Regions from separate parts of the Homo sapiens genome. Here all the other regions are linked to region 2. The links are contacts of gene promoters, found by promoter capture Hi-C in human tissues and cell types (Jung and others, 2019). All regions are on one chromosome and are shown on one strand. Each heading gives the region's core, a stretch centred on a gene start or on the middle of the fragment in contact. The rest is flanking DNA. Distances are from core to core; before and after follow the strand shown. Region 1 holds the start of NOL10 (nucleolar protein 10). Region 2 holds the start of KLF11 (KLF transcription factor 11). Region 3 overlaps ADAM17 (ADAM metallopeptidase domain 17).

Region 1 (3,687 bases), core at 608-3,107, 650 kb before region 2:
AGAGATAGGGTCTTGCTGTGTTGCCCAAGCTGGAGTACAGTGTTAGTCACAGGCATGATCCCATTACTGGTGAGCATGGGAGTTTTGACTTGCTCCATTTCTGACCTGAGCCGCTTCACACCTCCTTAGGTAACATGGTGGTCCCTGGCTCTTGTGGGGTCACCATATTGATGCCAAACTGAGGACACCCAACGCTCGTTGCGTGCTACAGCCAAGAACTCCTGGGCTCAAGTGATTCTCCTGCTTCGGCTTCACTAGTAGCTAGGACAATAGGCCTGCACCACCAAGCCAAGCCAGAGTCTGTGATCTAACCATTCTATTATGCCACCTTTCCCAAAGATGTTTACAGTTTTTCTTAACTGTAACCAGTGTAGAAAATTAAAAATTTGTGGAGGATCTTAAATTTGAGGACAGAGTTAAGGAATATATCCCTACGTACATGGCTAAATGTAAATATGTAGCAATGCCTAATAGAGGCCAGGCACTGTTCTGGTACTCTGGGTAGGGGTGGATGGGGTGGATAGGGAATATAAGGACAAATGATATAGGGTCCACGAAGAACTCTCAACCTAATTCTGATGCAATGTGGTGTTGGTATTTGAGAGTTTCCAAAATGTTGTGGGTAGGAGAGCAAAACAATAATATTTGGGTTTTAGAAAGTAAGGCATAAAATAATTTGTTCATTAAATCAAAGGAAGTAAGAAGATCACTTGGGAAAGTTATAATCCAAAAATAGTTAAGTATTTGAGTTTCAGCAGGAGGAATGAAAACAGATTACTTTAAGGAAATATTTCATAATTAGAAATATCCAGGTTTAGATACTGAAAGTGAGGGCCAGAGATAGGAATGGGTTGAAGATGACGCCACAGTCTTCTTTTTTTTTTTTTTTTTTTTTTGAGACGGAGTCTCACTCTGTTGCCCAGGCTGGACTGCAGTGGCACGATCTCAGCTGACGGCAACCTCTGCCTCCCGGGTTCAGGCGATTCCCCCACCTCAGCCTTCAGAGTAGCTGAGATTACAGGCGCGCGCCACCAGGCCCGACTGATTTTTGTATTTTTAGTAGAGACGGGGTTTCACCATCTTGGCTAGGCTGGTCTTGAACTCCTGACCTCAGGTGATCCGCCCGCCTCGGCCTCCCAAAGTGTTAGGATTACAGGCGTGAGCCACCGCACCCGGCCTACAGTACTTCTAACGTAACATCGCAGAAACACTGGAGGAGAGAAGAGAATACACTTCCACTCGGAATTCGCACCCTGGTCGCCTTCATTCGCTGGGTTCACTCGCTGAACTGCCTCGCCCCCGCCCGGGAGGATGACATCTCGGCCTGGGCAGAGACTCGAAAGCCTCCTCCTGCCGCTCGGGATGCTAACAGCAGGGAGAGCTGTGTCTAGTTTTTTTTTTTTTTTTTTTTTTTTTGAGAGGGAATCTCGCTCTGTCCCCCAGGCTGGAGTGCAGCGGCGCGATCTCAGCTCACTGCAACCTCCGCCTCCCAGGTTCAAGCAATTCTCCTGCCTCAACCTCCCGTGTAGCTGGGACTACAGATGCCGGCCACCACGCAAGGCTAATTTTTTTGTATTTTTAGTAGAGACGGGGTTTCACCATATTGGTCAGGCTGGTCTCGAACTCCCGACCTCAGGTGATCCGCCCGCCTCAGCCTCCCAAAGTGCTGGGATTACAGGCGTGAGCCACCGCGCCCGGCTTGTGTCTAGTCTTGCCCGTAGCAGCGTCGCCGACAGCCACGCCGGGTTGTCAGAGCCTCACTAGTTTTTCTCCCGGCCGCCGCTCTTCCCGGATTCAGCCACCTTCCCTCTTCCGGGAACTTGCCCGCGTGTTCCGGCTCCAGGAAGTGCGTCATCAGTCGGCGCCAGCGGCCGCACGCCGCGGAGCAGGGGCTCGGAGGTCCCGGGATTACGGTGCTCGAGCACGCTGGTGGGAAAGGACCCGGGACTTGAACAGTGTTGTGCGGCGCCATGCAGGTCTCCAGCCTCAATGAGGTGAAGATTTACAGCCTCAGCTGCGGCAAGTCCCTTCCTGAGGTGAGTCACTTCCCGGCCCCCTCACTCTCGAGCTCTTGGGGGTCGTCCTCCTCGTGGGGCAGCCGCCCCTCTCCTCGGCCCTAGCCTCTGTTTTAGCTGGACGCTGGTCACCCCCCGACTCGGGGAGGCCCAGAGGCGGCTGACAATTTCCGGGGGAGGTGTCGGCATTGGGAGACAAGGACACTGCCGTCACCGCGCCAGAAACTGGACCAAGGGATAATCAGGGTCAGTGAGCTTTGCTGGAACTTTTGTAAAGTTCTCTGTTCCAGAGAACGCAACCATTTGGGCCTCTTTGGGTGTTCACAGTCCCTGCCGTACATCGAGGAGGAAAACGTGGCAGATTCGTTGACACATCTCTCCCCCATATGGCCATCAGCTGTTTGTGGAGTCCCTATCATTTGCCAGGTCTTAGGGATACAACAGTGAACAAGGGAGATACAGACTTCGCATCTGCAGAATTTATGGTGTAGAGGACAGTATTTTCGAGACTTGTTGAACTTAACCTGATTCCTAGTCTTAAAGTTGGAGAGGGCTTGGACAAGTCGGTAATTCTCTTCCAATCTTCTCGTGTTTAGTAATGCAGCTGAGATTTAATAATGCGTTTAATATGCAGCTGAGATCCAGCAAGGGGAAGGGTGACTTGTCCAGCATGACACACTTAGGCTCTGAAACTTGTCTTTTGTTTCTTATACGTGATGATCCAGCCTCTGTCCAAGCACTACCACTGAGCACTACCTTTTGTGGAAGCTCATTTCCATTTTGAGACTCTGCACTTGTTAGAAAGTGGTTTTCAAATATGTCACCTTATAGCATGCCACTGTTGGCCTGAGTCCTGCCCTTGGAAAACAGAATAAATATAGCTCTCCTTCCATGCGTCTGCTTCTACAAAAATTTGGAGCCAGTGCTTAGGTTTTTCCTTTCTTCCTAAAATTCTGGTTTGAATAATTCCCTGTCTTCCAGTTGTTCTTCACACCCCATGAGCTTTCTCATTTTGTTCATTCATTCTCCACATGTATTGAGAAGTTACTGTGTGCAAGCAACTCTGTTTTAAGTATTGGGATCTATAGTGGACATTTCAGATAAGGTTCCCTGTTGGGGAAAAGGGAAATAAACAAGTGAGCAAATAAGGCAATTTAAGGTAGTCAAAAAGTACTTTTCGTGGTGAATGATTAGAAGAGAGCTGTTTTGGATAAAATATTGAGAGAAAGTGTTTTGGATAAAACCTTCGGGGAAGGCCTCTCTACAAGAGGTGACATATGAGCAGAAACTTGGATGATGAAGAGGAGCCAGTCGTGTGAAGATGTGGGGAAGAGTTTTCAGTGCTGAGAACAGAAAGTGCAAAAGCCCCACATGGGAATGCACTGGACATGTAGGAGGACGGAAGAGGCACAGGTGTGATTGCACTATGCTGAGTGAGGGGGCGAGAGCAGGGTGGATGAGGCTGGAGAGGTAGGCCTGGTAGGAAAGGTAGGAAGTTCAAGTTTTATTCTTAGTGCTGCTGGAAGTCACTGTTGTGTGGGCTGCTGTGCGACAAATGTCTAGCTGGGGAGGGTTCAAGTCGGGATGAATTAGGTAGTCCAGGTGAGCGACTTCGGTGGCTTGGGCTTGCCTGGTAACAAAGAAGATGCTAAAACACAGTGAGATTCAGGAC
Region 2 (3,769 bases), core at 1-2,500:
AGAAAACTAAGCCGGGGGCGAGAGGGTGATATTACTCTGAGAAGAGTAATACCCCTCCCTCCCAGGGAGGTTACAGTGGGCCGAGATCGCGCGCCCACTGCACTCCGGCCTGGGCGATAGAGCGAGACTCCCTATCAAAAAAAAAAAAAAGGAAAGGAAACTTTAAATGTACGAAGATACACGTTTCCTCTCTATCTGCCATGCACCAAAGCATCAAAGCTTTCCGTCTGCCGAGGTTCCCCGAGATCAAACAAGACGAGGCCACCTCAAATCCCCGGCCTCTGTCCCGCAGGCTGCGCCACTAAACCCCCTGTGATGTCACAGAACCGGGCGCCGAGGCCGACTCACCACACGGGCGGGAAGGGGCTCGCCCGGCCCACAGTGCCCGCACACCACGAGGCCCGCGCTCTGCCCACGTCCACGGCTACCTCCCCGAAGCCCCCAGGTCGCGACGCTTAGGGCCCCCAACGCTCGCGTGCCGCGTTCCCGCCTCCAAGCGTTGCCCCGCCTCCAAGGCAGTGCGGCGCTCCCGCCTCCCGTCGTTGCCCCGGCCCCTAGACCTTGCCCGCCCCCAGGCCCGAGCGGCACTACCGCTAGCCGCTCTTAACCCGCCCGACGGCCGCGTGCCCCGCCCCCAAAACCGTGCCGCGTTCCCGCCAGCAGCTCTTGCCCCGCCCCCAAGGCCGCGTGCCGCGTTCCCGCCAGCCGCTCCCCCGCCCAACGGCCGTCCGGCTCACAGGACCGGGGTGACGTCATGGCTGGAAATAGCCGCGGGGCCAGCGGGGCGGGGCCGCCCAGGAAGCGCAAGACAAAGCTGCGCGGGGAACACGCCCCCTCCTCGCCCCCGCCGACCCGGGCGCGCCCGTCGCGGCCGCCGCCCCGCCCGGCTCCGGAGCCCGCCCAGGCCCCTACCGGCGCGGCCGCAGCGAAGCCCTGCACGCCCCACCTCCCGCATTTACAGGCGCGCGAGTGCCGCACCACTTCCCCCGCCTCGCCCCTCGCTCAGACGAGTAGTCCCGCCGCGGCAGCCCCACCACTCACTGCGCGCGCGTCGTCTGGGCCTGCGAAGTCCGGCGTGTGCATCGTGCAGGCCGGCCGGGAGCAACAAAGCGGCCGCGGGGCGTGAGCTCGGGCGCAGCAGCGGCCGCACGTGGGCTGCGGGCGGCGGCGGCGGCGGCAACCCGGAGCTCCTGCGGCCGGCACGCGCCTCGCCCGCCCGCGCGGCTCTGCCCCGGCGCGGCCCTCGCGGCGCGGGAGGGGCGGGGCGGCCGCGGAGGGAGCGGCTGGCGGGGCGGGGCGCGGAGGCGAACCAAAATACACCGCGCCCCTGCCGGGGCGGGGCCGGCCACCACCAGCCAATTCGTGCCCGGCCGGCCAATGAGCGCCGCGGGGGGCCGCGTGATCGGAGCCTGGCCGCGGCGTGATCGGGCAGGGCGGGACGCGGCACGTGTTTTGGTCGGAGCGAGGGGCGGGGCCTGAGGCCCTGGAAAGTAAGGGAAAGGTCGCAGCGGCGCCAGGGGCAAGCGGGGCGGAGGGGGCGGCGGGGGCGGAGGGGGCGGCGGGGGCGGAGGGGGCGGCGGGGCGGCGGGGGCGGCGGGGCGGAGGGGGCGGGGCGGCGGCTGGGGAAATCCCAGGGCCGGGGCCGGACTCGGTGCGGGGAGAGGGGACCACGCTTATAGGAACCTCCTGCAGCCCCACCGGCTGAATCCATCGGTAGCGGAGACCCACCTAGAGGCCTCAACCTGGCTTTTGTTTGGTTGTTTTTAACTTCTGTCATTCTCCCTTCGTCTCTTAGGAATGCGTCCTTGACCGGAGAGGTCGGAAAGCTGGCCGGTTCTAGGTGACATTCCTGCATCCGGTCATTTTTGCAGACAGCGGGAGTCAGAGCTTATTGGCCTGAGTGTCCCGCTGACGCCCCTCCTCTGGCGTCTCTGGGCCTCTTCCGCTCTGTTACGGGGTCAGGGGAAGCCGAAACGGGCAGTCACCCAGAAGGCGCCCGCTGAAACCCGCCCATTCTTCCCAGGCCCCGAGAAAACGCCGCCCCCTCCGGGAAGTCCTCGAGCCTGCAGGAGACATCTAGCCCGCTGTCCAGGGCACCTTTTTTTTTCTCCCTATATTTCGGTTGCTCGCGTCTCTTGGTGTGGTTTGCCCACGTCTGCAGCGCCAGGTTCGTGGAGAGCAGGAACCATGCTGTTTATTTTCGTCGCCGCAGCCTTCAGCTCAGCGAGGAGCCACCCCTCCTCCGTCTGTTCACTGCGCGCGCCTTTGCTGAGCTGTGATGCGGGTTGGCGCTCAGTGCAAGGGGCAGAGGCCGCAGTGAGGAATCCTCCTTTTTTAAAAGCTCCATCCAGGGAGCGGGAGCAGAGAGAGAATCCCGGCACCCCGGGGCTTTGCTCTGAGCGAGAGAATTCTGGTCTTAGGGGAACGGGCTGGGCCCCACCACTCACATGAGCAGGACTCTGGTCCCCACTTGTTCCTTCGGGGCCCACTCGGGTTGGGCAGAGGGGTTGACCAGGCTGAGGAGAGGGTGTTTGCTGAAATAGTAAGAGGGTTTAAGACGAAAGAACCGTGATAAACTGCTCGCATGAAGACCCCGGAGGCTCTGAGAGGGGCGCAGGGTGTTCTGTGTGTAAAAAGTTAAGTCTTAAGATACACACTGGAATATTCTCTTTTGCCTGGACTCCTGCATTCGCCTTATAACTGGTCTCCCTGCGTCCACTCCAGCTCCCAGAGCCTCTTCCCACTCAGCACCCCCAGGGGTCTTTAACCCTTTCAGTGGCTCCCACTGTACTCAGCGTAACGCTTCTGCTCCCCACTGTGGCTTGTGAGCTCCTGCAGGGACCCAGCCCCATGCCTCTCCCCACGCCCCGGAGGGACAGCCTGGGCCTCCTCTTGGGCGCCTGTCCCACCAGCCCCTCTGCCGTCTCCAGGTCCTCGCACTTGCTGTTCCCTAGAATGCTTTTCCCCCACATGCCCCCTTTACTCTCACCCGCAGTCCACCTGGAGAGGCCCCCTCTAGCGGACACACCCTCGGGGCCGACCTCCAGTCCCCTTCTGGCGGGCTTTCTTGTTTTCTTCCTCCACAACACTTTTCTTGAACTGCCCCTTTTCCATTACTTCAGTTATTTATCATCTGTCTCCCCACCAGAAGGACTCTCCCAAGGCCAGGGAGCCTGGCTGTTTAATAAGTCCACGTAGGTGAACGAGCGAATCGAAGGTATCCACCAGCCTCCCTGCTTGAACATCCCGTGAGCACCTCTAATTGTGTCCTTAAAAAAACTGAACTCAGGGCCGGGCGCGGTGGCTCACGCCTGTAATCCCAGCACTTTGGGAGGCCGAGGCGGGCGGATCACCTGAGGTCAGGAGTTGAAGACCAGCCCGGCCAACATGATGAAACCCCGTCTCTTCTAAAAATACAAAAATTAGCCTGGCACGGTGGCAGGCGCCTGTAATCCCAGCTACTCAGGAGACTAAGGCAGGAGAATCGCTTGAACCCAGGAGGCAGAGATTGCAGTGAGCCGAGATCGCACCACTGCACTCCAGCCTGGGCGTCAGAGACTCAGTCTCAAAAAAACAAACAAAAAACTGAACTCGGATTCCAGCCAAATCTGGATTTCTCACCTCCGTGAAGGGTACAACTGGAGACCCTGTTCCTTGATCTAGAAACCTGAGCGTCACCTTTACCTCCTCCCTTTCGCACAGTTGCTGTCTTCCGCCAATTACATGCCCTTCTTCCTTCTCAGTTCCTCTCAAACTCTTATGTCACCCA
Region 3 (4,071 bases), core at 556-3,055, 550 kb after region 2:
AAATAAAAAATAAATGTGATTTCTTACCTCTTTGGGAGCATGGTCAGGGAGGAAAGAGGAGGCAGGAGGAGAGGCAGGTCTCAGAACAATCCAGCTGTCAATGCGTGTTCTCTGTTCCAGAAACTGACAACTCCTGCAAGGTGTGCTGCAGGGACCTTTCTGGCCGCTGTGTGCCCTATGTCGATGCTGAACAAAAGAACTTATTTTTGAGGAAAGGAAAGCCCTGTACAGTAGGATTTTGTGACATGAATGTGAGTATTTATGTACAGCTTTTTCTGTAACAGCCAGATAGGAAGTTTTTATTTTGTAAGTACTTGATTTTGCAGATGAAAACAAATCAAAACACAAGTGGGGCTACATCCTTCTGGCCCATTGTTATCTACGGGTATTACTTAGGAGGAGAAGACGGAGTGCTTTCAGGTCCCTGCCTGTAGTTTCCTTCTGTGGTGGGAGGCTTTGAGCCCAGAGACTGAGAAGGACTGGGGTGGGGACTTTATGGTAAAGTTGGTTGGTTTCAGGCAGTGGGTCCTAATTATGTTTTCCTAGATTACTTACAGAACTGACTAAGATTGCAAAATTATTCAGGGTGTGATTTTGAAACAGGTGCTGAATGAGTAGGAAAGACCTAGAAGGCTGCTTGACTTACTTAAGCCAGACCCTTTTGTTCTCTAGAGAAGCATAATTTTTCTCATGCAGAATGATGGGAGAGGGTTTTAAGATTTACGAGGCTTCACAGGGAGTCTGGCTGTGTTGTTCACTGTCCACTGTGTATGTGTAGAGTCCTTACTGGAATGCCTCATCTTTAGCAAACTGGTTTCCTTGATTTTTGTCTCCTGGTAATTCTAAATCACTTGTAAAAATGGAGTAATTATGAAAGTGTTAATGACAGATGTTCTACTTTCTTGGGTACTCATTACGCGGAAGTTATTGCCTTGTGTCAAAGATGGGAAAACGTTTGATTTTAATGAAGCCCTTTACATGTCAGTTATTTTTATAAAGCTACATTGCTTCTGAATACATTGTGTTTGGGAATGATGCTGTATGTATGTTTTTTCTTCATAGGGCAAATGTGAGAAACGAGTACAGGATGTAATTGAACGATTTTGGGATTTCATTGACCAGCTGAGCATCAATACTTTTGGTAGGTGATTTCCCCAGATTACTTACTGAGAGCTGAGTCAATTTCTGTGATGACATTAGAAAAGTGTGCTTTCAGAGTGATGTGCTTTAATTCTGCAGTAGAAGGTGGAACTATTCACAGCTTTAGTTATGAAACAACTTTGTTGGCTAGAATAAAATGAACTCATAGATAGTCTGTCCCCGTGGAGCTTGGATGCACAGATTTTCTGACAAGGGAAATAAAGTCAAAATACTGGCTTCCTTCTTTACCCAAAAATATCCATGTGATTAGCATAAGCATAGTTTAATGCTATAGACTGAATCCTGATTGATGTAAGAGTGTTTATTTGACTGAATGCTATATACTGAATCCTGCTTGATGTAAAAGTGAGCCTCATATTTTGCAGAAGCAGGGTATATCATGTTGTCACGAGTCCATAATTTAATCACAAAAATAATATCCAGGTAACAAAAACTTTGTCTTCTTAAGCATTTACTAGTAGTAGCATTCCATATTAATCTGTTGACACAGCTACTCCAGGTAACATGTTGAATATTCTGCAATCTCTTCCTGTCAGCCAGTATATGAGGGCTATTTCTTTAAAAGCACTTGGTATGGAGAGATGGTGTGGTGTAATACAGGCAGCACAGACATTCTGCTCTCGGTAGTATGTCTAGCCAGCAGCTCTGGCATTTGACACAATGGTAATATCCTAAGAGCATTTCACTTTAGATTTGTGAAGTACTTGGTCAAGACATTAACTGTTTGGAATTGTTCACAGGAAAGTTTTTAGCAGACAACATCGTTGGGTCTGTCCTGGTTTTCTCCTTGATATTTTGGATTCCTTTCAGCATTCTTGTCCATTGTGTGGTAAGTCATCAACTTTTAAGTAATTAAATGTTTTATTTAAATTTTGATCAACTCCAACCATGTAATCTCTGGAAAAGGTAAAACTTGTTCTTAGCAAAGTTTGGCCTGATATTTCCAATAGCTTTTTTTGTTGTTATTCCTAGGGGAACATGTCTTGTAGAAAGCTTAACTAATGGTCTTTTAAAAAAAATACTATTTTTGTGTGTTGGTGTTTTAATATATAAATTTCTTAGGAATTTTATACTTTTAAGCATAGGAGACTGTTTAACTGGATTTGTCCAGGTCCTTTGATGAGTAAAGCCCTTATTGAAGAGCATTTTCAGGCTGACTTCGTTGCAATAGAGCAAATATCAAACATCGGCATTTCAGATGTTCCCCATATATCATGTAGATTATTGGCAGCAGATGGCTATGTCTTCAGCCTTCTGCACAAATAGGATGTAGGGACTGGGGCCCAGCTGTCATATAGAGTATTTACATCTTCCCCAAAAAATAAGAGTAAGCAGTCTTTTCTGTTCTCATTCAGAATCAGTAACAGCTACAAGTTGAATTGGGCTTTGACTAAGGAACTCCTGGTCCTTTATAAATTTGAGGCCCTTTTTCATAAATGTTCTTACGAATCCATTCACTTGCATCTGTGGGGAATGGGGATTTGTCTGCTGTAGAGATGAGAAAGTCACACCCAGGCTTCCAGACTTGTTTTCCCAAACTCTTTCATAGTGGCCTTCCTATGAGCATTTAAAAATTCCAGCACAACTCTGATGACAAAGGAGTTTTTCCTACTGCCTCCTTCCTTTCCTTTCCTGCTGGCTTCTCCTGCCTAGGGGCCATCTCACAGAGCAGCTCTTCCTCAGGGTGGTGAGCATGATGGGTATAGGAAGATCTCTAGGGAGCACTTGTGCTGAAGAAAGCTGAAGGTGACGTGCTTGAAGCTTTGACAGATGTCTCTGGATGACAGTGCCATCCATCACGATTGCTTCTATTGGAGGATGGAACCTATTTTGTTTACAGGGAAGTTGCACATGTGGACAAGGCACGACCCTTGATTTCAGAGCAAAGCCTCCGATAGGAGGGAGGGCCATGGCTTGTTTTTGGTCATAGAATGCATTGATGGCACCCAGACAGGAAGCCTAGTCCTGGATTCTTGGTCCTTGCCCTCTGTCACCTATTATGCTTCAGCCACAGGCAGGGATGGGGCAGCAGATGGCCATGTGGTTAGCCTTCTGCAGAAGTAGGATGTAGGGATTGAGGCCCAGTTCCTCCAGCAGAGCATGGTCCACAGAAACTGTGGAGACAGCTAAGAGAGTGAGGCCATGGGCCGGGGCAGTGCGAAGAATGCTGCAGGCCCAGCCACCTGGGTCTTCCTACCAGTTGCCCTTCCAGTCAGTGCGGTCCTGGTGTACCCAGCATCTGGGACATTTGTCATTTCATGCACAGGAAGATGCCTTTATTATTCCCCTGCCCACAGAGGGATAAATTTCTCAGAAAACATAGCACTTAAACCTTGCCTCTTTCTGTACTTAACGCCAAAATGTATTTCCTTTGAGTGCAAAGGAAACACTTCTAGACTGGTGGCATAACTAAAGCTTGGGTGAGAAATGGATTGTCATCTGTTGAGCCTGCTATCACTTTCTACAACTCAGGTTCTAAGTTCTTCAGTTAGTGTTAGGAATAGCCTGTGATGAAATAGTACTCACTAACTGAATTGTATTTGTAGGGAATGACCTTCTTGCTGTTTCTTTCTAGGATAAGAAATTGGATAAACAGTATGAATCTCTGTCTCTGTTTCACCCCAGTGTAAGTATACCATATGAAAGAAACATAATCTTCGCCTGGTCTGAGGCCCTGTTAGGCAAAGACCTTCACCTGACCCAGCAAGAGCTTTCACTGGCTGATGGAAGGTCATGTTGCAGCAGGAAGGGTCTAGGTTGGAATGTTTACCCTTCTGACAACAGTGATGGTGAACTTCGATTAGTTGCATGGATGGACATTTAAAGAGCTGTGCTGTCCCCTTCCCAAGCCATAAGGAGTGATTTAGCCATTCAACACTTAGTTAATATTTTGAGTTCAATTTCTCTCTT

Evidence for each region. The method cuts DNA at HindIII sites, captures the fragments that hold promoters and counts their contacts. A contact is called where the count stands out against the background at its distance.
Region 1: a contact is called between the fragment with the promoter of NOL10 here and the fragment with the promoter of KLF11 in region 2, in 2 of the 25 tissues and cell types used here (adrenal gland and small bowel).
Region 3: a fragment that was not itself captured here is called in contact with the fragment with the promoter of KLF11 in region 2 in 1 of the 25 tissues and cell types used here (dorsolateral prefrontal cortex).

The regions. Positions count from the first base shown.
Region 1 is chr2:10,688,145-10,691,831 of GRCh38, reverse strand. It overlaps NOL10 (nucleolar protein 10), which reads left to right and starts at 1,857. Exons shown (of 21, transcript NM_024894.4): 1 at 1,857-2,036. The coding sequence starts at 1,971. It also overlaps the pseudogene RN7SL832P. RefSeq lists enhancers at 2,011-2,290, 2,351-2,410. The HindIII fragment of the contact is 16,217 bases long and covers 1-3,687 here.
Region 2 is chr2:10,041,031-10,044,799 of GRCh38, reverse strand. KLF11 (KLF transcription factor 11) reads right to left here and starts at 1,250. Exons shown (of 4, transcript NM_003597.5): 1 at 1,042-1,250. The coding sequence starts at 1,083. It overlaps KLF11-DT (KLF11 divergent transcript), which reads left to right and starts at 1,399. Exons shown (of 3, transcript NR_135558.1): 1 at 1,399-1,490; 2 at 1,796-2,167; 3 at 3,149-3,247. RefSeq lists silencers at 557-626, 667-716, 837-886, 1,177-1,406 and a promoter at 1,093-1,992. The HindIII fragment of the contact is 11,158 bases long and covers 1-3,769 here.
Region 3 is chr2:9,490,817-9,494,887 of GRCh38, reverse strand. ADAM17 (ADAM metallopeptidase domain 17) reads left to right here. Exons shown (of 19, transcript NM_003183.6): 15 at 121-251; 16 at 1,063-1,141; 17 at 1,902-1,990; 18 at 3,737-3,787. It also overlaps a transcript of IAH1 not described here. Among named protein-coding and RNA genes, the nearest start is that of IAH1, 18 kb to the right of the region's middle. The HindIII fragment of the contact is 5,937 bases long and covers 1-4,071 here.